5 separate regions of the Homo sapiens genome follow, and all the other regions are linked to region 2. The links are contacts of gene promoters, found by promoter capture Hi-C in blood cells and fetal thymus (Javierre and others, 2016). All regions are on one chromosome and are shown on one strand. Each heading gives the region's core, a stretch centred on a gene start or on the middle of the fragment in contact. The rest is flanking DNA. Distances are from core to core; before and after follow the strand shown. Region 1 overlaps LINC02842 (long intergenic non-protein coding RNA 2842). Region 2 holds the start of GGH (gamma-glutamyl hydrolase). Region 3 has its middle 8.8 kb from the start of LINC02155. Region 4 overlaps LINC02842 (long intergenic non-protein coding RNA 2842). Region 5 overlaps LINC02842 (long intergenic non-protein coding RNA 2842).

The links. Contacts are between HindIII fragments. The CHiCAGO score rates a contact against its expected background, and 5 or more counts as called.
Region 1: a fragment that was not itself captured here is called in contact with the fragment with the promoter of GGH in region 2 in 1 of 17 cell types (total B cells); the score reaches 8.2 in total B cells.
Region 3: a fragment that was not itself captured here is called in contact with the fragment with the promoter of GGH in region 2 in 1 of 17 cell types (monocytes); the score reaches 5.7 in monocytes.
Region 4: a contact is called between a fragment that was not itself captured here and the fragment with the promoter of GGH in region 2, in 1 of 17 cell types (total B cells). The highest score is 8.1, in total B cells.
Region 5: a contact is called between a fragment that was not itself captured here and the fragment with the promoter of GGH in region 2, in 1 of 17 cell types (total B cells). The highest score is 7.5, in total B cells.

The regions. Positions count from the first base shown.
Region 1 is chr8:61,794,095-61,798,141 of GRCh38, reverse strand. All of the region lies in intron 1 of LINC02842 (long intergenic non-protein coding RNA 2842), which reads right to left. Among named protein-coding and RNA genes, the nearest start is that of LINC02842, 11 kb to the right of the region's middle. The HindIII fragment of the contact is 3,736 bases long and covers 608-4,047 here.
Region 2 is chr8:63,036,636-63,041,018 of GRCh38, reverse strand. It overlaps GGH (gamma-glutamyl hydrolase), which reads left to right and starts at 2,213. Exons shown (of 9, transcript NM_003878.3): 1 at 2,213-2,359. The coding sequence starts at 2,251. RefSeq lists a silencer at 1,820-2,179. The HindIII fragment of the contact is 10,760 bases long and covers 1-4,383 here.
Region 3 is chr8:61,878,761-61,883,251 of GRCh38, reverse strand. No RefSeq gene overlaps it. Among named protein-coding and RNA genes, the nearest start is that of LINC02155, 8.8 kb to the left of the region's middle. The HindIII fragment of the contact is 171 bases long and covers 2,176-2,346 here.
Region 4 is chr8:61,810,667-61,814,825 of GRCh38, reverse strand. All of the region lies in intron 1 of LINC02842 (long intergenic non-protein coding RNA 2842), which reads right to left. All of the region lies in intron 2 of LOC105375871 (a long non-coding RNA gene), which reads left to right. Among named protein-coding and RNA genes, the nearest start is that of LINC02842, 28 kb to the right of the region's middle. The HindIII fragment of the contact is 3,711 bases long and covers 444-4,154 here.
Region 5 is chr8:61,835,958-61,840,394 of GRCh38, reverse strand. All of the region lies in intron 3 of LINC02842 (long intergenic non-protein coding RNA 2842), which reads right to left. Among named protein-coding and RNA genes, the nearest start is that of LINC02155, 52 kb to the left of the region's middle. The HindIII fragment of the contact is 6,801 bases long and covers 1-4,437 here.

The sequences.
Region 1 (4,047 bases), core at 1,226-3,725, 1.2 Mb after region 2:
TAAAAGGCTAAATATTTATAAGTTTTTTAATCATCTATACATACAAAATGTGAGTAAATGTGTCTATGAAAATATCAGCACATTATCTGAGTATCTTCTGTCTAGGAAAAACACTCAACAAAAGAATATTTTTCAGTTTTTATTGCATAAAAGTTATTTAAAAATTAAAACAAAAAAAGTAAGATTTTTAAAAGGTGGGCCAACAACAACAAAAACAAAAACATAAATGAGGTCTTGGGGGCAAGATGTCCACAAAGTTCTTGGAAAAGCTCTGACATATTCAGGGAGATCTAGAAAGTCACATGCATGTGTGAGGCTATGTGTATTTTCAGGAAAGACCTAAGACTGACTTAATATATCACTTTTCACTGACCCTTAGGGTCTTTGAAAACAGGAGTGAAGGCTAAGTTAAAGCTGTCAACTTCCATTTGAGGCATACTCTAACATACACACATACATGCATGCACACACACACACTCACTGAGAAACCCTTTGGAAAGGATAGGACACTTATTAGTTCAAAGCACTTAACCAACCTTCTGCCCAATTATTGGCTGACCACTAAGTTAACCAAGGAGAGATTTCAGTGGTTGCACATGATAAAGCTTACAGACTTTATTGAATTAGGCCAGAAAAGTCACTAAACAGTAAATAATGAAAACCAAAACAAAAGCAACAATGAAAAATTATGGTAAGTAAGGGGGGAGTCTGATTTTCAGAATTGCCACATAATGTTATTTTAAATGTCCAGCTTTAAACAAAGAATTATGAGGCATACGAAAACACAGCATGGCCCATGCACAATGGGGAAAAATGTATTCAATAGAAATATTGTGCAAGGAAGCCCAGATATTGGACTTACTAGACAAATGCTTAAAACCAGCTGTTACAAATACAGTCAAAAACTAGAAGAAACTGTGTCTAAAGAAATAAAAGGGAGTATATGAATAACCAAATTGAGACTATCAATAAAGATATAGAATTTTTTTAAAAAACGGGCCAAATAGAAATTCTAGACTTGAAAAGTACAATAAGTGATGTGTGAAATTCATAGGAGGGTCTCAGAAGCCGATGTAAGCTAGCAGAAGAAAGAATTAAGTAAACTTGAAGATAGATAAAGTCTGGAGAAATTTACAAAAATTAAGAGTACCCAGATACACATGGGATATTTTCAATATGCCAACACATGTATAATGTGAGTCTCAAAAGTAGAGGAGAGAAAGAAAGGAGCATAAAGAATAATTGAAGAAATAATGGCACCCTTTACAAATTTGATGAAAGTTTTATCTATGAATCTAAGAAGCTCAACAAACTTCAAGGAGGATAATCTCAAAGAAATCCACATGTACACACACTATAGTCAAACTGTCAAAACCTGGAAAGGAAAAAAAATCTTGAAAGCAGTGAGAAAAAAACAACTTATTACCTACAAAAAAATTCCCCAATAAGTTAACATTTGACTTATAATCAAAAACAACTGGAAGCCAAAAGGCAGTCACATGACATATTCAAAGTGCTGAAAGAAAAAGACCCTCAACCAAGAATCCTATATTCAACAAAACTATCCTTCAAAAATAAAGGAAAATGTAAGACATTTCCAGATAAACAAAAACCAAAAGAATTTTGTTGCTAGCAAACCTGGCCTAGAAAAAAAAAAAAAAAAGGCCATAGGGATTTCTTCAGGCTAAAATGAAAGAACATGATACAGTAAGCTGAAGCAACATGAAGAAATCAATAGCTCCAGTAAGTACCTACATAGGTAAAAATAAAAGACAATGTAAATGCATCTTTTGTTTTTAAGTCCTTTGTTCCCCTATCTGATGTAAAAGACAACTGCATAAAGCAATAATTACACAAGTGTGCTTGTCGGCTTACAATGTATAAAGATATAATTTACATGAGAAAATAGCAAAAAGGAGGAGGGAAGAAATAGAGTTAGACTGGAGTAAAGTTTTTGTATATTATTGAAATTTAGCTGATTTTATTATGCATTAGATTTTTTAAGCTAATCCGCTAATTGTAATACTAGGCACTAAGAAATAACTCAAAAAATTTAGCAAAATAAGAAAATTAAAATAGTGCAATAGAATAATGCATCTATTTAACACAAAACAGACAGTAATAGAAAAATATAAGGGCAAGAAAAAGATATAGGAAAGACAGCAAAATGGCTGTCATAAATCCTAATATATCAGTAATTATATCAAATGTAAATGAATTAACACTCCAATTAAAAGGCAGAGATTGGAAGATTGAATTTTTTTAAATGATACAACTACATACTGTCTAAAAGAGGTACACTTTAGATCCAAAAACACAAATAGTTTGAAAGCAAAATTTCTGAAAAAAAAATGTATCATCTAATCTAACCAAATGAAGGCTGGAGTGGCTATAATAATATCATACAAAAAGAAACACAAGATACTATGGAGCTATAAAAAGGAACGAGATCGTATTCTTTGCAAGGGCGTGGATGGAGCTGTAAGCCATCATCCTCAGCAAACTAACACAGGAACAGAAAACAAAACACCATATGTTCTCACTTATAAGTGGGAGCTGAACAATGAGAACACGTGAACACAGGGAGGGGAACAACACACACTGGGACCTGTTGGGGAGGCCGGGGAGAGGGAGACCATCAAGATAAACAGCTAATGCATGCTGGGCTTAATACCTAGGTGATGGGTAGATAGGTGCAGCAAACCACCACTGCATACATTTACCTGTGTAACAAAACTGCACATCTTGTACATATATCCCAAAACTTAAAACAAAATTTAATTTAAAAAAATTGCACTAGAGACAAAGAAGGACTTTTTATAATTATAAAGTGTCAATGTCCATCAAGAAGATATAGCACTTATAGACATATTAACAAAGTAAAATGCAACATATAGAATGGTAGAAAATATTTGCAAATCATAATTCCAATAAAAGTGTAGTTTCCAGAAAATACAAAGAATCCTCTCAACTTGCAATAAAAAGACAAATATCCAATTAAAAAATGGGCAAAGGATTTGCATAGTCATTTTTCCAAAAAAAGATATACATATAGATAATAAACACACAAAAAGATGATCAACAGCATTGGTCATTAGGGAAATGCAAATCGAAACCACAAGGAGATAGCCCTTCACACACACTAGAATGGCTAAAATCAAAAAGAAAGACAAGAACAAGTGTTAGAAAGAAGTCAGAGAAATTACAACCATCATACATTGCCGGTGTAAATGTAAAATGATGTAGATATTTTGGAAGACAGTTTGGCAAACGTTCAACAAGTTATTTATGGAATTTACTATATAACCCAGAAATTCTAATACTAGGTATATGCACGCACACAAAAAAATGAAAACAAGTGTCAAACAAAAACTTGAACAAGAATGTTCATAGGAGTAATACAATAGCCAAAATGTGGAAACAATATAAATTTCCATCGACCAATAAATGGATAAACAAAATGGGATGTATCCATGCAATGGAATATTATTCAACCATCAAAAGGAATGCAATACTGATACATGCAGCAACATGGATATACCTTGAAAAGACTATGCCAAGTGAAAGAAACCAGTCACAAAAGGCCACCTATTGTATAATTACATTGATATAAAATGTCCTCATATATATTATATCTGTGGAGGACTATCCACTTTTGTTCTAAAGAGAAGAAGTAGAGTTCCAAGTTACCCAGGAAAGACCTCCTCAAAAAAAGAGTTCAAAAACTATTGATTAAAAAGTCATAGCTACAAAATTGAGGAATCTTGATGACCCAATGTGTTTCATATTTCCACAGATATTTAAGGAGAGGCTTTACTTTACCCTCAGAAGTTTAGAAACCCTCCTTTTTTTTTTTTTTTTTTTTTTTTTTTTTTGAGACAGAGTCTTGCTCTGTCCCTCAGGCTGGAATGCAGTGGCATCATCTCGGCTCAATGCAAGCTCCGCCTCCTGGATTCATGCCGTTCTCCTGCCTCATCCTCTCGAGTAGCTGGGACTACAGGCGCCCGCCACCACACCTGGCTAATTTTTTGTATTTTTAGTAGAGAC
Region 2 (4,383 bases), core at 964-3,463:
AAAGATGCTCCAAAGAGCATACTTACACATATTTTTTTTGTTCACATGAGCACGCATTAATCTAGGTACACACTTATATCCAGAATGTACTGGGTTACAGAACATTTAGATCTTCACCTTTACCAGATATTGCTTAATTTTTCTCAAAAATAGTTATAATAATTACAATTCCACAAGAAATGCAGAGAACTGTCATTTTACTACATCCTTGACTTATTATCAAAGGCTTACATTTTTGTCAATTTACAGAAACCTGCTTCCAAAGATGGAGGAAGCTGGGAGACCAAAGAGGCTGACCAATCGAATTTCTCAGAAAGAAATACTTAGTAGAGACAAACAGAAGCGACCCCTGCACTTGCCCTCCAGAAAGTATGCTTTATTTAGCAAGCCTCTAGGGTAAAGACAAGTGCAACTAGTTAGCTCTTAGACTATTGTGATCACTGGGGACGTTAGATAAGCATCTTTATGAGGGGTTATATATGTTATGAGCATTGTTTAAAGACCTTTGCTGCAGAACACCTCGGTATGCTGTGGGTCAAACATCAGTCCCCAGGATAGTTTTGCTTCAAGATGGTGTCACTCTTGCCAGGAAACAGGCTGTTTTTCTACACAGTCTAATGGATGTGACATATTATCTTGCATTTTTCTGATGACTACAGAAAGTTTGGTTTGCTTTTCACATTCTTTTTCCATTTTTCTATTGTGTCATTTTTCTTATTATTTCTTCGCATATTTTAGAAATACTTTATATTTTATAACTATATTTTCCAAGTTTGTGCTTTAACTTTAATTTTCTTATATAGTCAATTTTTAATTAACATTTTTATTTTTAATGTTTTATGAAACTCTTCCAACAGCCTAAGTTAGGAAGATATATTTATATATTTTCTTATCAAAGTATAATATTTTGCTTTCGTATTTACATATGCACTTCACCTCGAGTTTATTTTTGTGTGTAACGCCGGGTAAAAAATTTTTCCTATGTGGATAGTCAATTATTCTGGCACCACAAGTTCATATTTACAAGGCTACTTGTCTATTTAATCATGCTCAAAACCAGCTCGGCCCTTTCATGTCTTTCATCACATCCTTTGTTGCTTACCTCTCACCACACCCTTCTACAGAAGCGTTATTTTCTTGTTAAACCAGACTATTCACTGCATTTACTCTTCTTGCAACATGCTAAAATTGTTCCTGTTGTCTCTACGAGTCACGCTTTCTGCCTTTTTTCCTTACTGAATTTAAACCTCTTGTGAAAAAGACTGTCCAATTTACGTTTTCACCCTTAATACTGAGCATTGATGTAGCAGGTTTTCAAATATTCTTGTTTTATGCTGAATTTCAGTTGGCCCTTATAGATGGAAACTTTCACTGAGTACAAGCTATATATCCATGTATTTAGGAACAATCAACAGTTTTAACGAATAGGAACCAGTCATCTTTTCTGCCCCGGTGGATAGGCTTAGTGGTGGTCGGTGGATGGCGCTGACCGCGGTTGATCAGAGGAAGCTGACGCCGTTTGCAGGCGTGGCCTGGGCGTGCCCGCTTCAAAGTAGACGCCCGGAGTTGGCCCAGTTCTGACCCTAGTGATGCGCCTGTGCGTGTGTTCCTATCGCCGTCCCGTCTTCACTTCCTACAGATGCCGCGACCCCCCAAATAGCAAGTGTGGACATTCACATTCAGGGGCACAGGCTGTCCGTACAGCGAACGTTGTCACCATTCCCGGAGATAGGGCCCCGACCTTCAAGGGGGCGGTGCGGTTGGCGCGCAGTTCTCAGGCGCCTTCTAGAATCCCCTGCCAGCCTCCCCGCTGCCTGGTTACCAAACTCGGCCGGGGACACCCAACCTCCCCTCTCGAGGACCTGGGTTGGCCAGCCCAGCTTTGTACGGGTGACTGAAGTCCACATCGACGTAACAGTTGAAAGGGAAGGACGCGGAGACCACCCGGTACCCGCCCCAGGCGTTTCCAGAGTCTCCGCTTAGGCGGCCCGTGGGGGTCGGGGTCGCGGTCGCGGTCGCGGACCGGGGACAGAGCAATGGGGCGGGCGCGCAGCGCCGGCTGCACTCCCAGAGCCTCCCACCGCCGCCCCACGGCCGCCTAGCGCGCGCCGGGACTGCATTTCCCATAGGCCCACGCTGCGGAGCACCGCCCACCCGAGTCTCACGCGAGTGCGCTGCCGCGAGGTGTCCCTGCCGCAGCCCCCGCCCGCCCGCAGAGCTTTTGAAAGGCGGCGGGAGGCGGCGAGCGCCATGGCCAGTCCGGGCTGCCTGCTGTGCGTGCTGGGCCTGCTACTCTGCGGGGCGGCGAGCCTCGAGCTGTCTAGACCCCACGGCGACACCGCCAAGAAGCCCATCATCGGTAAGGAGGCTGTGCGGGGCCGCAGCAGACGGGGAGGAGCTGGGTGTTGGCGCTGGGCGCCTCCCGCCGCCGCGCTCCAGCTGGCGCGTCCCGCCGGGAAAAACCCCCAGATGTGCTTCGCTTTTGGTGCAAGGAGGAACCCGGGCTGGGCACCATTTAGGTCGTACTGAAATGTACCTGGTTGAGGTACCTCGTTCATTCCTTTAGACTCATATGACTCTTAAAGGTGGGAGGGAGGAGGGTGCACCATGAAGAATCCTGCGGATTTTCTTTTTTTGTACACAGCTAGGAATTTCTACTAAAATAAAACATTTCCTTTTCGCACATAGTTGGGAAGTTTTACTCATTTACATCTACAAATTCTGTACATGCATTGCATTCATCAAAATGTATTGATGGCGTATTTAAAATACCAGTGCATTGTAATAGAAAATCAAGAAATTAAGGTATAACTTGGATTTTGTCATGTTCAGTAGCAGAGGACAACAGTGGCTGATATCCTAATGTGAGTTCTATTTGGTGTTAAAATGCAGCCCACAATTTTTCGTTTCCAACATATTTGTGTTTTAAAGAGGTAGTAAAATCAGTCTGTGTTACCAAAACACACATTTGAGACAGGCCCAAGGAAAGCTACCTAGGAGAAATCATCCTGGGGTTAAAATTTGCCCAAAGAAATTTGTGTGTGGACATTAAGATTAGTTTTATTTTGGCTGTAGGATTATGCCTTTCATACTATTTTTTTCTATGAATATTATCACTGTATTCTGTAACTAAACAGAAAGTAGATGAATGTTTTTTCATATAGGTAGTGCCCAGTTTTCAAATGGGTTGCTTACTAATATTTGGAACTTATTTCATAGCTGTTTAACATGGTGATTTGATTCTCCACGAATTAACTCAAGCTGTAATTAATGTAACAGGTTGCATATTGTGTGTCCAGAGAAGAGAAAAAAAAGCAGAGGGGATTCTTCCCCTTTCCTAGAATCAGGGGTAGCCCTGCGTCAAATATTTAAAAAAGGGACTTTGCTTTTGGTCACTGAGATCAGCACAACATCGTTAACTGAGTACCGACTATGTACACAATCTTGCTCTGGGAAGTGCAAAGGATTGAAAGATGACAAGCCACAAAAGTTGTGAGATGGCCTTAAATTATTGGTGGAATTTTGGTCATATTTTGAGGGACAGGGAGAACAGCTTGAGCTCTTTTCCCAGGGATGGGAAAAGTGAATATGCGTGGGCCCAGGGGAAGGGGAGATGTTGGTGGAACTCACTCTGATGTACTTCTCTTTCTGGTACCCTTGTGCTCCCATGATGCCCCATGTCTCCTTTGTGGTACCTCACCCCATGTACCCTGTACCACTCCATTTCCTATGACACTCCTAGTTCTTCGTTCCCTAGCCAAACTTTGTTATTCCTTAGTGAAGATGATCTTACCTACCAGTAAGGAGAAAAAGTTTTACTGAACAAATTTTGGCGTTTGACATGTTAATCTGAATACCTGATGAATGCCAATTGTAAGAAGCTGGGAATACAAAAGTGAGTAATACAGACAACAGCTCTTCCTATCAGGTGGCCTACAGAGACACTGAAAGTGTTCCAAATGCTGAAGTGCTGAATAGGAGTAGGCACAGGTACTCACCCGACAGACGTGTTTTGATGTATACTGGTTGCTATACTCTGCTGGGGCTGGGTTTCACTGGTAAAAGGAGGCCAGAGAGATGGGTGGGGCAGAGCATACGGGTCTTACAGAGTTTATTAAAGTTTAGGGACCCACTGAGGTAGTTAAACAAAGTGGTGACACCTGCTTGCTGATCTATCGCTACCTGATGTCCTTTCCTATTGCTTTCTGCTTTCACTCACCTGGCTCTAATAATATGGATTCCTTGCAACGTGACAGGCACAAATCTGACTCCTGGCCTTTGCACTTGCTATTCCTTTGTCCTGGATTGCTCTTTTCCCAGATATATGAATGTGGTTTACTCTGTCACCTCTCTGAAGTCCTGGCTCAAATGTCATGTTTTACC
Region 3 (4,491 bases), core at 1,012-3,511, 1.2 Mb after region 2:
AATTCAGTCCTGGGTGCCCTTCTCTTACTACACTCAAGCCCAAAAGTGATTTTATCCAGCATTTGGTGTTGAATGCTGTCTATAGGTTGTTGACTCCAAAGCATGCATCTCTAAGCTCAGCTCTTCCCTGAGCTCTAGAGTTGGGCATCCTTATTTAGGTATCTCATAAGACAGCCGGAAATGAACATGTTCAAAATAGAATTTGTCATTTTTTTCCCACTGGCTCTCTCTTGGTGTATTAGGAGATTCTTGGTCAGAATTCCCATTGTTAGGATTAAAATCCTTTAATTTACACCATGTACTTAAATGCTGATTTTTTCCTTACCTGGGAAAAAGTTGAAAAGAACAAACTGTGACCTTTGATTAAAAGAAGATTCACCATAAAATAAATGAAGCTTAAGCTTCAGGTCACCACACTGCACAGGCCCTTTTCAAGGTGTTGGGAAGGTCCATGTGCTTTTGTAAAATTTCTAAGAGTCCAATATTTTAACTATGTTAGATTTAGAACTCTGTTGCATTGCATTCATACTTCCTCTTAGTAACATTTCCTCTCATGGCATGAGAGAAGGTGCTGGTCTATGGGGAAGTTGAGGTGGTGATACAATGATTGTGGTTGAATGGCATTTATTTATGTAGTTCACAGACATTTCTGAGTTCTGTTAAATTATTATGTTCTTTCAAGATAGAAATTACTTCCAGAATTTTTCCCCTTTGCCTGAAATACTCTTCGCCCTCATTATCTTACTGTCTTTCTCTAGCAAATTTCCTTTCCTGAAGGAGGTCTCCCCTGACAAGAATTACACAAGGGTTTCCCTCCCCTTACATTGTTTTATTTTTTTCATCACAGTATATCTATCACAAATAATAACACTCTTTTTTTGTTCAGTTTTGTCTCCTTCACTAGAAATTAAACTTCCAGAGGTCATGGTGTTTGTCTTTTTCCTTGGTATGTTCCCAATATTTTACAATCAGCCAAGCCTGAGTAAATAATTAATGAATGAACAAAATTATATCCTTAAGTATTTTATAGTGTAAATTTTAATAATTCCTAAAATAAAAACCTAGTGGAATAACTGGCAAGATGGCAAAATAGAAGTTTGCAGCTCTTATCTTCCCAACAAACATCAATTTCGACAACTATACAAGGATGAGAGTATTTTTGAGGGAGAATAGGAGGCCAGTAGAGAGATGCCAGCACCCTATAGGTGTCTATTCTAATCTATGAATAGACACATTGAAGAGGGTAAGAGAACAGTTTCACTATATCCTCATCACCCCTCCACCAAAGCAGCACAGCTCAGTGCTGTGCCAGGAGACCCTCTTTGCCTTTAATTTATCTCACAGGGGAAAGTGAGAGTATAATGAGCACCCTGTCTCCCTAGCCATTTGGGACACTACCGAGGAGGCCAACATCTGTCTTATCACACCCAGAAAACTGAGAGAATTGGGATTACTCAATAGTTTGCAGGCAGCTAGGAGAAGAAAAACTGAATAGGCACTCAGAGCAATGGAGCACAGAACTCAATAAAGTGTTGTGATTTTTACAAACCACTTCGCAAACTCCACCAAGAGTCCAGACCACCAACCTCATAACGCAGGTTAACTGCAGACCCCTAGGTGGTCCACATGTGTCCCTAGCACTCTACGTGCCCCTCCTTTTCATAAGCACCACCTTCTGTGCTCCCCTGAAGAAAGTACATGTGAGTCTACAAAAATCATACACAATACACAGACACCCAGATCAAACTCTACTTAACTCGGGAAAAGCATCTGACTTTGAACTCTTCAGGGCACTTCCCCAGGGGAAAAAAAAAAAAAAAAATGGCTTTGTGGGATGGAGATAAGGCATATGATACCAATACTTTCTCCCCAAAAGGGATAAAGAAAAATGGAGTGGGGCATCCACAGAAAAGATCTGAGAGACCCCCACAATGCCTAACTGGGATGACTGATGAAGATTTTTCACTCTCAAAGCCAGTCAGTAAAAACTGAATGAAGTGATTGTTTCTTGAAATGCAAAGAAGGCAACTCAAGATTTCAAGAAACAACAACAACAACAAAATTTCACATGACACCACCAAAGAAATGCAATAATGTTTTAATAACTGACCCCAAAGAAATATACATCTACAAATTACCTGACAAATAATTCAAAATAATGGCTTTAAGGAAGCTTAGCAAGCTCCAAGAGAACACAGACAACTCAGTGTTATCACCAAAACAATACACGAACAAATGAGACATTCAACTAATACATACAAATAAAAAAGATACGAACAGTAATTCTGGATCTGACGACTACAATGAATAGAATCCAAAATGGAGCAGAGAGCTTCAAAGGAAGCTTTCAAACATCTCAATACTAGCTCTTTACCCAATCAAGCAAAAGAAAAAAATCTATGAACTCAAAGACAGGTTACTTGAAATAATCCACTCAAATGAAAAAAAAAAATCGAAGAGTGTGGAAATAAAACCCTATGTGGTTTGTGGGATACCATCAAATGAACCAATGCATGTATTTGGAAATTCCAAGAAAGGAGCAGAAATCTTTTTTAAAGAAATAATGGCTAAAAAAATCTCAAACGCCCAGCTATTTTTTGTATTATTAGTAGAATCGGGGTTTCACCATGTTGGCCCAGCTGGTCTCAAGCTCCTGACCTCAGTTGATCTGCCCACCTCGGACTCCCAAAGTGCTGAGATTACAGGAATGAGCCACCATGCCTGACAGAGCTTTTTTTAAATCAGTATTTTGAATTCTTTATCTTGAATTTTGAAAATTTCTTTGTGATTAAGATTTATTGCTGGAAAATTATTGTATTCCTTTGGAGGTGTCATATTTTCTTGTTTTTCATGCTTCCTGTGTCCATACATTGATATCTGTGCATCTGGTGTAATAGTCAGTTTCCCTATTTTTTAATTTACTTTCATAGGGGAGGACTTCTTCCTAAAAAATGTATGCCCCACAAAAGACTTATTTCAGGGCTAATTCCATTTGCAAGCCCTCTGAATAGCCATCTCAAAATATGCTGAAGAAGGATATTTTGGCATGAAATATTTTTATTTCCTTCAACTTCATGACCTCATTTACATGTGGCATCTTAAGAAGTTAAACTCACAAAAGTTGACATTAAAATGGTGATTACCAGGAGCTGGGGCTTAAAAGGTGCAAAGTTCTTGATCTACCAGATCAATAAGACTATAGTTAATAATATTGTATTACATTCTTGAAATTTGCTAATATAATAGTTCTTACATGTTCTCACCACAAATAGGAAATTATAACTATGTGAGCTGAAGAATATATTTATTATTTTGATTTCTGTAATCATTTCATGATGATATACATATTAAAACTTCATGTTGTACAACTGAAATTTATATAATTTTATTTGTCAATTATACCTCAATAAAGCTGGAAATAAATATCTATTTGAAATTTGCAATAAAATACAGAAATTATATTTTCAAACTTACATATTAACTAGTTTGTGGGCTGTCAGAGAAGAACTTCAGACGAGAACTGTCTTACTTCCTGTCCTGTGTTATTTCTATCACTTGAGCTTCTTTCTCAGTAACATATTAAACAAAAATGTGTATATTAGAGATTCCATACATCTGTAAGATATCTAAACCAATAATTAAATTTATTGCTAAGTCAACACATGACCCTAATAGATATCGATATATGCAGTATAATTTGTTTAAAAATAAACATAGGAAAAGGAAGATGAGAGAATGGAGACTTTCAGTTTACTGTTATTTTTATTTTTTTAATTTTTAAATTAAAGGTACACAGCTGTTGATATCCATATTATTAATACCTATTTTTCAGTAAATCTACAGTTTCCTTTAATGTGTACATATAGTCATTATTTTTGTAGAATTGTTGTATAAAAGAAAAAAATAGTATAAGTGCCATAATTGTACATTACTTTTATACTCTATCTGCCTACAAATTTTAGATTGTGCTCCTCAATAGCAAGAAAGAGAAAAAGTTAAGAAGTGACATTTACTTTCTAACCTTAATCTTTAACTAATTCTATTTATGTCATAGTAGATTCTGAATTCATTTTAATGTAGCTATAATCTTTCTAAATTCATACTTTTTTATTTTAGGGAAATGTGTTGTCTTGTATATATTTTTGCAAAGACTATAATCATGCTGGCATGTACACAAACAAAACAAAAGATAGGGGAGAGAAAAGATACACATTGCAAAGCTATATCAAATGGCATAAGTGACTTCATGTTGTATTTTCCCTGGCTTCTTCTATTCCACCGGATGAATGACTGTCATTTTGCATTTATCAGTCTGAGGCAGTGACATGGTGAGGCCTGTATTGTGATGGATGAAACTGTCAGAACCTACCGAGTACTTAGATATTGCACCAGTGAATTATATTTACAAAGGGCTGCTTTATAGAAAAGTGTGATTGCTCTCTTCTATGACTATTCTTTGCGGTGTTAAGGATATGCACTCATAGTCAAAGA
Region 4 (4,159 bases), core at 1,050-3,549, 1.2 Mb after region 2:
CCAAAACTCAAAAATCAGATGTCAGCAGGTTTGGTTCATTCTGGAAGCTCTAAGGGAGGATCTCCTCCATACTCTCCTAGCTTCTTCTGGTAGTTGTTGGTGAGCCTTTGAATAGCGTGACTTATAGACTCCTCACTCCAATCTCTGCCCCTGACTTCACATGGCCTCTCCTGTGTGTCTTTCTTTCTGCTCCTCTTCTTATAATGATACATGCCATTGGATTTACGGTCCACCCTGAATCCAAGATAATCTCATCTTGAGATTCTTAACCTAATTACATCTTCAAAGATCCTATTTCCAAATAAGATCACATTCATAGACACAGCAGGTTAGGGCTTAGATATATCTTCCTAGAGACCACCACTCAACCCACTACAATAGCCAAGCCTGCTTACCTCCACCATATTTTTACCTCATAGTAGAGAGGAAAGAAACCTAAAGCTTTAGAACAGAGGGGATTTGTTTTCTAAAATCTAAGCATCGGGAGGGAAATTATTGTTGAACCCAAGAGTATCGGGACCTTTGCAACTAAGTTTTGGCCACTGACAGCTACACTCTGGGAGCCTGCCAGATCTTAGCAGCATCTGTTACCTGTTTTAGAAAGCCCTGGAACGTGTGATATGTGATTGTTGTTTAAGAGATGCTATTGAAGTGGGACTGGCTAGCATAAAAGATGAGGTTTTAATTGAAGGTGCCTAACTGACTGGGGAGTGTTTATTATGTGCAGCCCCCACACTTGACGGGCCAGTGAAACAAGCATCAAAGATAACTTCGGGGTCTCTAAGAACTTACAAAGGGAGTAATTGGGGGAGGGAGGATTAAGCTAAGGGGCAGAATGAAAAATGTGCTCAGTGGAGAAGGGAATTTGGGAGAGTGGACAGGAGGAAAGAGATTTTCAATGAAGGATGCCCTCAGAATGAAATGAGTAGAAGATATAATGTGTTAGACATTCATACACTGGGACACTCAGACCTATGCACTGAGTGCTATTAGGTGTACTTTGCAAAGACATCAAGAAGAAGAAAGAAAGAGAAAGAAAGAAAGAAAGAAAGAAAGAAAGAAAGAAAGAAAGAAAGAAAGAAAGAAAGAAAGGAAGGAAGGAAGGAAGGAAGGAAGGAAGGAAGGAAGGAAGGAAGAGAAAGAAAGAAAGGAAGGAAGAAAGGAAGAAAGAAAAAGAAAGAAAGAAAGAAAGAAAGAGAGAGAGAAAGAAAGAAAGAAAAAGAAGGAAGGAAGGAAGGAAGGAAGGAAGGAAGGAAGGAAAGGAGGGAGGGAGGGAAGGAAGGAGGGAAAGAGGAAGGAAAGGAGGGAAGGAGGGAAGAAGGGAAGGAGGGAGGAAGGAAGGGTTAGTTCATTCTTTTTTTTGAGACGGAGTTTCACTCTTGTCGCCCAGGCTGGAGTGCAGTGGCACATCTCAGCTCACTGCAACCTCCTCCTCCCAGATTCAAGCAATTCTCCTGCCTCAGCCTCCGGAGTAGCTGGGATTACAGGCGCCCACTGCCACACCCAGCTAATTTTTTGTATGTTTAGTAGAGACTGGGTTTCGCCATGTTGGGCAGGCTGGTCTCGAACTCCTGACCTCAGGTGAGCCACCTGCCTCGGCCTCCCAAAGTGCTGGAATTACAGGCTTGAGCCACTGTGCCCGGCCAGTTCATTCTTCTCTGAGGGAAGCTCAGGTTTAAGACCAGAAATGAGACCAGAATTTATGATACTTGCTATTCCCCCTTGTCATATATTTACTTATATTAAAGACAGCACTGGCAGGGCACAATGGCTCACGCCTGTAATCCCAGCACTTTGAGGTTGCAGTGAGCCGAGATTGTGACACTGCACCCCAGCCTGGGGGACAGAGTGAGATCTGTCTCAAAAATTTAAAAACTAAAATAAAATAAAGAAAGCACTGAGGTGAACATTACCACTTGATGTGTTTTAGGTTCCTAAAGATTAACTATGGAAGGTGCAATGAAGAAAAATTCTAAGTAGCACTTTGTTCTGATTTCTGCCTCCCTGTAAGCTGGAGTTCTTCTTTACTGCAGCTCAGTGGCCATAGGCCCCCAGGGATTTAGAGAGAAGAGCATGACCCTCAAGACTCAGAGGTCATGGTAAAGGAACTGCTGAGGGACTAGAGTAAAAGAAAAGCTCCTCACTTGTTATCATATTGAGGGGGGATGATGAGTATGGTTGGAGAATGTGCTAAAAAATGTGTTCTTGGCAGGCATGTACACACACACACACATGCACACACACACACACACACACATCTTTTTCCTTCAGTTTAGAATTATGAGCTTGCCATTAGGATAAAAAATAAAGACAGAGGTGTGTCCCAAAGCAAAAATATGGAGAGTTTTTTCTTCCCTATCAGCAGCATCAGAAAGAGGGTGGAAGGCTGGGTGCAGTGGCTCACACCTGTAATTTCAAAACGTGGGAGGCCGAGGTGGGAGGATTGCTTGAGCCCAGGAGTTCAAAACCAGCCTGGGTAATATAGTGAGACTTTATCTCTACAACAAAATAAACAAAATTAGCCAGGCATGGTGGCCTGCTAATTCGGGAGGCTGAAGTGGGAGGATTGCTTGAGCTAGGGAGGTAGAGGTTGGAGTGAGCCAAAATCACACCGCTGCACTCCAGCCTGGGTGACAAAGTGAAACCCTGTCTCAAAAAAAAAAAAAGGGAAAGAAAGAAAAAAGAAAGAGGAACAAATGTGTGCCCTGTTCGTAGCCCCAGGATCTTCTCCACCCCAGGACTTTTATCCCCACCTCTAAACCCTGAGAAGAATCTTCATTTTCCTAGACAAAGAAGCATTCTATTTGTCTAGGTCTGGAAAGATCTTTAGACTAGAGGTTTAAAAAAAAGATGATGGATACTTTAAAGGGCAGCGTAAACAATAAAAACTATTAAAGGTCAATTGATCTGAGCTGTCTGGCAGGGAGAGCTTACAGACTCTCCACAAAGGGTGAGCTGGGCTGCAGTCCACAAAATGCCGGGTCAGAGCAAGCTGGAGATGACTGACAGGGAGAACTCTCCTGGGCTCAGAGTGTCTCAACGCCAGGAACCTCATTAGGACATCTTCCCTCCACACTGTGACTTGACACTTCTTTATCAAATGATTCTTCAGGTAAAGACCCTGGAATTTGAAAATGATTGACTACACTGGGCAACAGATATAATTGGAAATTCAAGAATATTTCCTTTATTAATCCTCTCTTTTAGAGGAGTGCAGTCTTCTTAAGGATCCATATGCTTGGAGTGTCATGTTAGACAAAACAGAAAACAACTTAGTGATTGCTCTCTAGAAATGTATGAACTAATAAAATTGAATGAAGAAAAAATATACATACTTTTTAAAGGGAAAAAGATGCTTTTATTTTTTTATTCAGTCTGGAAGTTATTTTCATATAAGGTAAGAAGTACATTTTATCTGCAGAGAAACTCTTTTCATCTGAACTTGACCCATGTTAACCTCATTGGTTATAGGGGGTCACAGGAATATGAAACCTCCCCATATGTTCTTTGGAATAGTTTCAACTTTAGTTTCATTGTTTAAAAGTTGTTCTTCTTTGTGCTTTTACTTCCTTTTAATATTCTTCCTGCTGCTATTTCCAAGTAGTTAATTTAACTGGCAGTGGATTAACTCACCTTGGCTAGCAATGGAACAATGAAAAATTTAACACAGTGTTTATTTATTCCTGTATGTGTGTGTGTGGTTGTACATATGGCACACTGGAATAAGTAAGGAAGCCGAACTTATTAAAGTGCAATTCATAAAATACATCCTTATAAGTGTGTCACAACCTGGATACTAAAATCCAGCAAGAATTTTGTTAATTCTACCTTGTTATAATTTATTTTTATTTGATTTTCAAGAGTTTTCTGAGACTGTAGGAAGTCATCATTGCTATTCTTGTACTTATAATTTTTATTATTAAGTAATATGAAAAAAGAGGAAGGGAAGAGAAAGGAACTGGGACAGTAAGCATAAGAAAAGGTGCATTGCCTATTTAGGCTAAAAGAATGCAGATTACTAATTATCATTCATTTGATTGTGAATGTTATATTTAAACTTTCCTCAAATGATTATTTGTATTGTGTGATATTATCAGGAAAATCTTTGGAATAAGTATTAAAAGTATGCTGTTTAAAACCTTAATTTTTAAGCTTTTAG
Region 5 (4,437 bases), core at 1,846-4,345, 1.2 Mb after region 2:
AATCTCCCCCATAAAAGACAGCTTTTCAGGGCTACTTCTGTTTGCAGGCCATATGAACAGTCAACTCAAAATATGTCAAAGAAGTATATCTTGAGGTTAAATATTTTGATTTCCATCAATATGCTATTTAGAAAGAGATTTTAGGGAAAACCCAAGAATACAAAGGAGGCAGAAAACAAGGATACTATAGGAAATTGAAATCTCTGACACCTGCAGCAGCAGCAAATATTAAATGCAACCCATCCCCCTAACAGATTAACATAAAACCTCACAGGAAAGGCCTATTCGCCTCAGTTCCCATTACCTCATACGTCATGTCTGGCTTTCAAGAAAAAAGTTGCAAGACATATCAAGGGCATTAAAAAAAAACAGTCTGAAGAGACAAAGCAAGCATCAGAACTAGACTCAGACAAGACCCAGATTTTGGATTTATCAAACAGGGAATGTAAGATAACTGTAATTATAATTAATATGCTAAGGACTCTAATGGAAGAAGTAGACAAAATGCAAGGACAAATGGGTAATGTAAGTAGAGAGGTAATGCAACAGTGAAGTAGTACTACATATCCATTAGAATGGCAAAAATCCAGGACACTGAGAATACCACATGCTGGCAAGGATTTGGAGCAATGAGGATTCTCATTCATTGCTGGTGGGAATGCAAAATGGTGCAGCCACTTTGAAAGACAGTGTTAACAAAAGACCATGGTATCTGCAGAGGAGAAAAGGAGAGTTTTATTTTCTTAAAAAAAAAAAAAAAAAAATCTGTGGACTGGGGAGATACAGCCCCCACTGTAAAATGAAAGCCTTCCCTGAGGGGGTGAGGTTAGAGAATGAGTGATGATAAAGGCAAAACTTGCAGGGCAGGAGAGAGGAGTCAGGGGAATGAGAACAGAATCTTGATTGGGGGACCTTTAAGTCCCAAATCACCAGTCTCTCTTAATTGGCTGATTCCAGATGGTCAGTCAGTTGGGACCAGGTGGTTTGTTTGAAGTAAGTTGGGGAATTTCCAGCTGTAGTCTATCTCAGCACTGCCAACAAGAACTGATTTGGCTTAATTGTAGAAAGGGAGGTCCTGTGACATGTTTACAACATTTTTCTGCGAGCACAGAATACATAACAGCTTCCTCACCCAGACATGGCCACCTCATTCTGTTTTAACTTTGATCACCTCAGTTAGCCACAGGGAGTCCATTCTGCCTGTTGGCTAGGAACATACTGTAACAGCAGTTCAACAGTTTCTTACAAAATTAAACTTACTCTTAGTACTAGATAAAGCAATCATGCTTTTGGATATTGATCCCAAAGGGGCTGAAAATGTATGTCCAACTCCAAACCTGCACATAGATGTTTACAGCAGTTTTATTAATTGCCAAAACTGGGAAGCAACCCAGATGTTGAAGAAAATTCAAATATTTCACCCTAAAATATATTTCCTTGAAGATAGATATTAAGAAAGGCTGAAGGTGCAAGAAGAAATGAAAAGTTGTCTTTTGTAGGGGAGATTTGCTTTGTAGAGATCTGCATTGATGCAGCCTGGCTTTTTCTGAGGCCTTTCCTTGTCTGGATCTAGGAATGATAAACTGAGAGTCTGACACCTTTAAGCAACTGAAAGAAACATTTACCATTTATTCTTTCTGAGGACTGCCATCTGTGAGAGTGTATTTACATAACGAGTCCACCTTTGCTAGCCAGGCCTTCTCTTCTCCCCCTCCCATAACCTATTTTGCCACCATAATCTGTTTCACGATAATCCAAGCCCCCATTCTTTCAGTAACCTCAAGATGGTATATAAGTTTCTGAACCGCACTGGGGCTTGAGGTAATCACTCTATGGTTCTCCTTTATGTGCATATTAATAAATTTGATTCCATTTTTCCTAATAATCTCCTTTTGTGAGTTGACTTTTCAGTGAACCTTCAGAGAGTGGAGGGGAAGTTTTCTTTGGCTCCTACAATGTCTTTTAGCAGGGGAATGAATGAGTTAACTCTGGTACATTGAGACAATGAAATATTATTTAGTGCTAAAAAGAAATGAGCATCAAACCATGAACAGACATAGAAGAAATGGAAATGCATATTACTAAGTGAAAGAAATCAATCTTAAAATGCTACATACTGTATGGTCTCAACTGTATGACATTCTGGAAAAGGCAAAACTGTGGCAACAGTAAAAATATAAGTGATTGCAAGGTACTAGGGGAAAGGGAGAGATAATAGGCAGAAGACAGGATATTTAGAGGAGTGAAACTATTCTGCATGACACTATAATAATGGATACATGTCATTACAGATTTGTCAGAACCCATAAAATGTACAACCCCAGAATGATCTTTAATGTCAACTGTGAACTTTTGGTGATATTGACCAGTGAAAGTCAACAAAAGTTTATTGACAGTAACAAATATACCACTTTGGACCAGGATATTGGTAGTGGGGAGGCTATGTATGTGTGGCAGTGAAGGGTATATGGGAATTCTCTGTCCTTGCTGTCTGATTTTGCTCTGAACCTAAATCTGCTTTTAAAAAATATCTCTATAAAAATTTGTTCAGGGAAACATAAAATGATATATTCAGAAACTCAGTCTATGTAAAGAAACCATCAAGAAAAGATAAATAATATGTAGAGGTAAAAGTAAATTCTCTTATGAGACTTCCTGTCAAACAACTTTGTATCAGCCCATTACTTGTTCCCTTTTGCATTTAAAAGCCTGCTTGTAACAAAGGTGACAGAGCACTCCCCAAGGCCACTTGGAAGTGGTCCCAGGCAGCTGTCCTCACTTTGGTTCAAGTATACTCTTCAAATTACATTTTATGCTTAGGCTTCTTTCTTTTAAGCTGACAAAAACAACATATTGCATGATTATATTATATGAATATGTGTAATTAATGACAGCAATTTTATAAGGAAGAGATGAATTGGGAAAACTCTGATAGATATCAGCACTACCTATGAAGCATTTTAGTATTAAGTGTACTTTGTTATAAATGTACATTGCAAACTCTAGTGCAACCACACAAAACATTCTTTAAAGAATTATAATATTGTGAATGGGGTGAGTAATTCTAACCCTGAGGATCTAAAATCAATTTCCATGGCTTAAAAGCCAAAGGGATGGCAGAATTTGGCCACAGCTCAGGATGCCAAGAGCTTTTACTTTTAGATGCCATAGTAGCTGGGCTCCCACTGGGTTCTTTTTACAGAACAAATGAATGACACAGCAGCCTCTGCTTCCCGTTTTTAAACTATGTTTGGCTTTAAAACTCTTAATGACAAGAAATAACCTCCTACAGCAAAATTGAGGGCTTGGTCGCCAGTTGGGTGAGGGCTCCTGTAGCTGGAGTGGGAGTGTGAGCTAGGCGCAGGATACCGCTGCTGGAGCTGGAGAGCAAACCCTGCCTAGACCGGAGTGTGAGCGGGATGTGCATTTTCCACCTGCTGGACTGGGCTGTGCTCACTGAGGACAGCTCCACCTTCTCCAGTGGCAGGGCTTAAGTGCAGCTGCCACAACCCCTCACACAAGTACTCTGTCTGGCTGAGGACTGCACCATCCCCAGCCCCCATGACCAGTGCCGACTCTCATCATTGAGGGCCTCAGCACAAGCCTGCCCAGCCCAGCCCAGCCTTGCCCCCCACCCTCCCTAGACAGAGCACACAGCCCAGGGTCCTGGGGATTGCTCAAGCCGCCAACTTGGGCACCTGATCACTCTTCCCAGGGGCCTGAGGTTGTTGCTCCTAAACTCCCAGTCGCTACCAACACAGCTGGCACCTACCCGCCAGTACCACCTGCGAACTTGCAGACTGGGCCACTCAGCCCATCTCAGTCACCACCAACATCAGTGCACACTGCTGCAGATCCAGAGAATCATCTCACCACTGCTGCAGACATTGCCCATGCCACACTGACTTCTGAGGGCCTAAGAACGTGCCCCCCTGCTCAGTCTACTGCTGCCACTGCCAGAATCCAAGCAAGCCACCTTGAAGCCCAAGAATTAGCCTGCTGATAGCTATCAACACAGGTGCCAGAATACACTGCCCTGGGACACAAAGATAGGCACACCCAGCCCACCACTGCCACCACTGGCCTGCAGACTGGCCCACTGGCATCACAGTACCCAGCACAGCTTTACCACAGCCTTCACTAAAACTGCCACCCAGCCCACTGAGGAAATCACAGGTACCACTAACACTGTTTACAGCCAAAGAAATCAGAGACTACACTACTGCATGTACCCAGAATCAAAGGGAAGTATGCCACCCAACTAACACCGAGATACATCTCCAGGAAAGAGTCTTATCAGATGTGCAAATGTCAACATAAGGACACATGAAACAGGAAACAAGGAAGTATGACACCTCCAAAGAAACACAATAATTTTCTAGCAATAAACCTTAATAAAAAAGAAATTTTCAGAATCCTAGCTAAAGAATTCAAAAT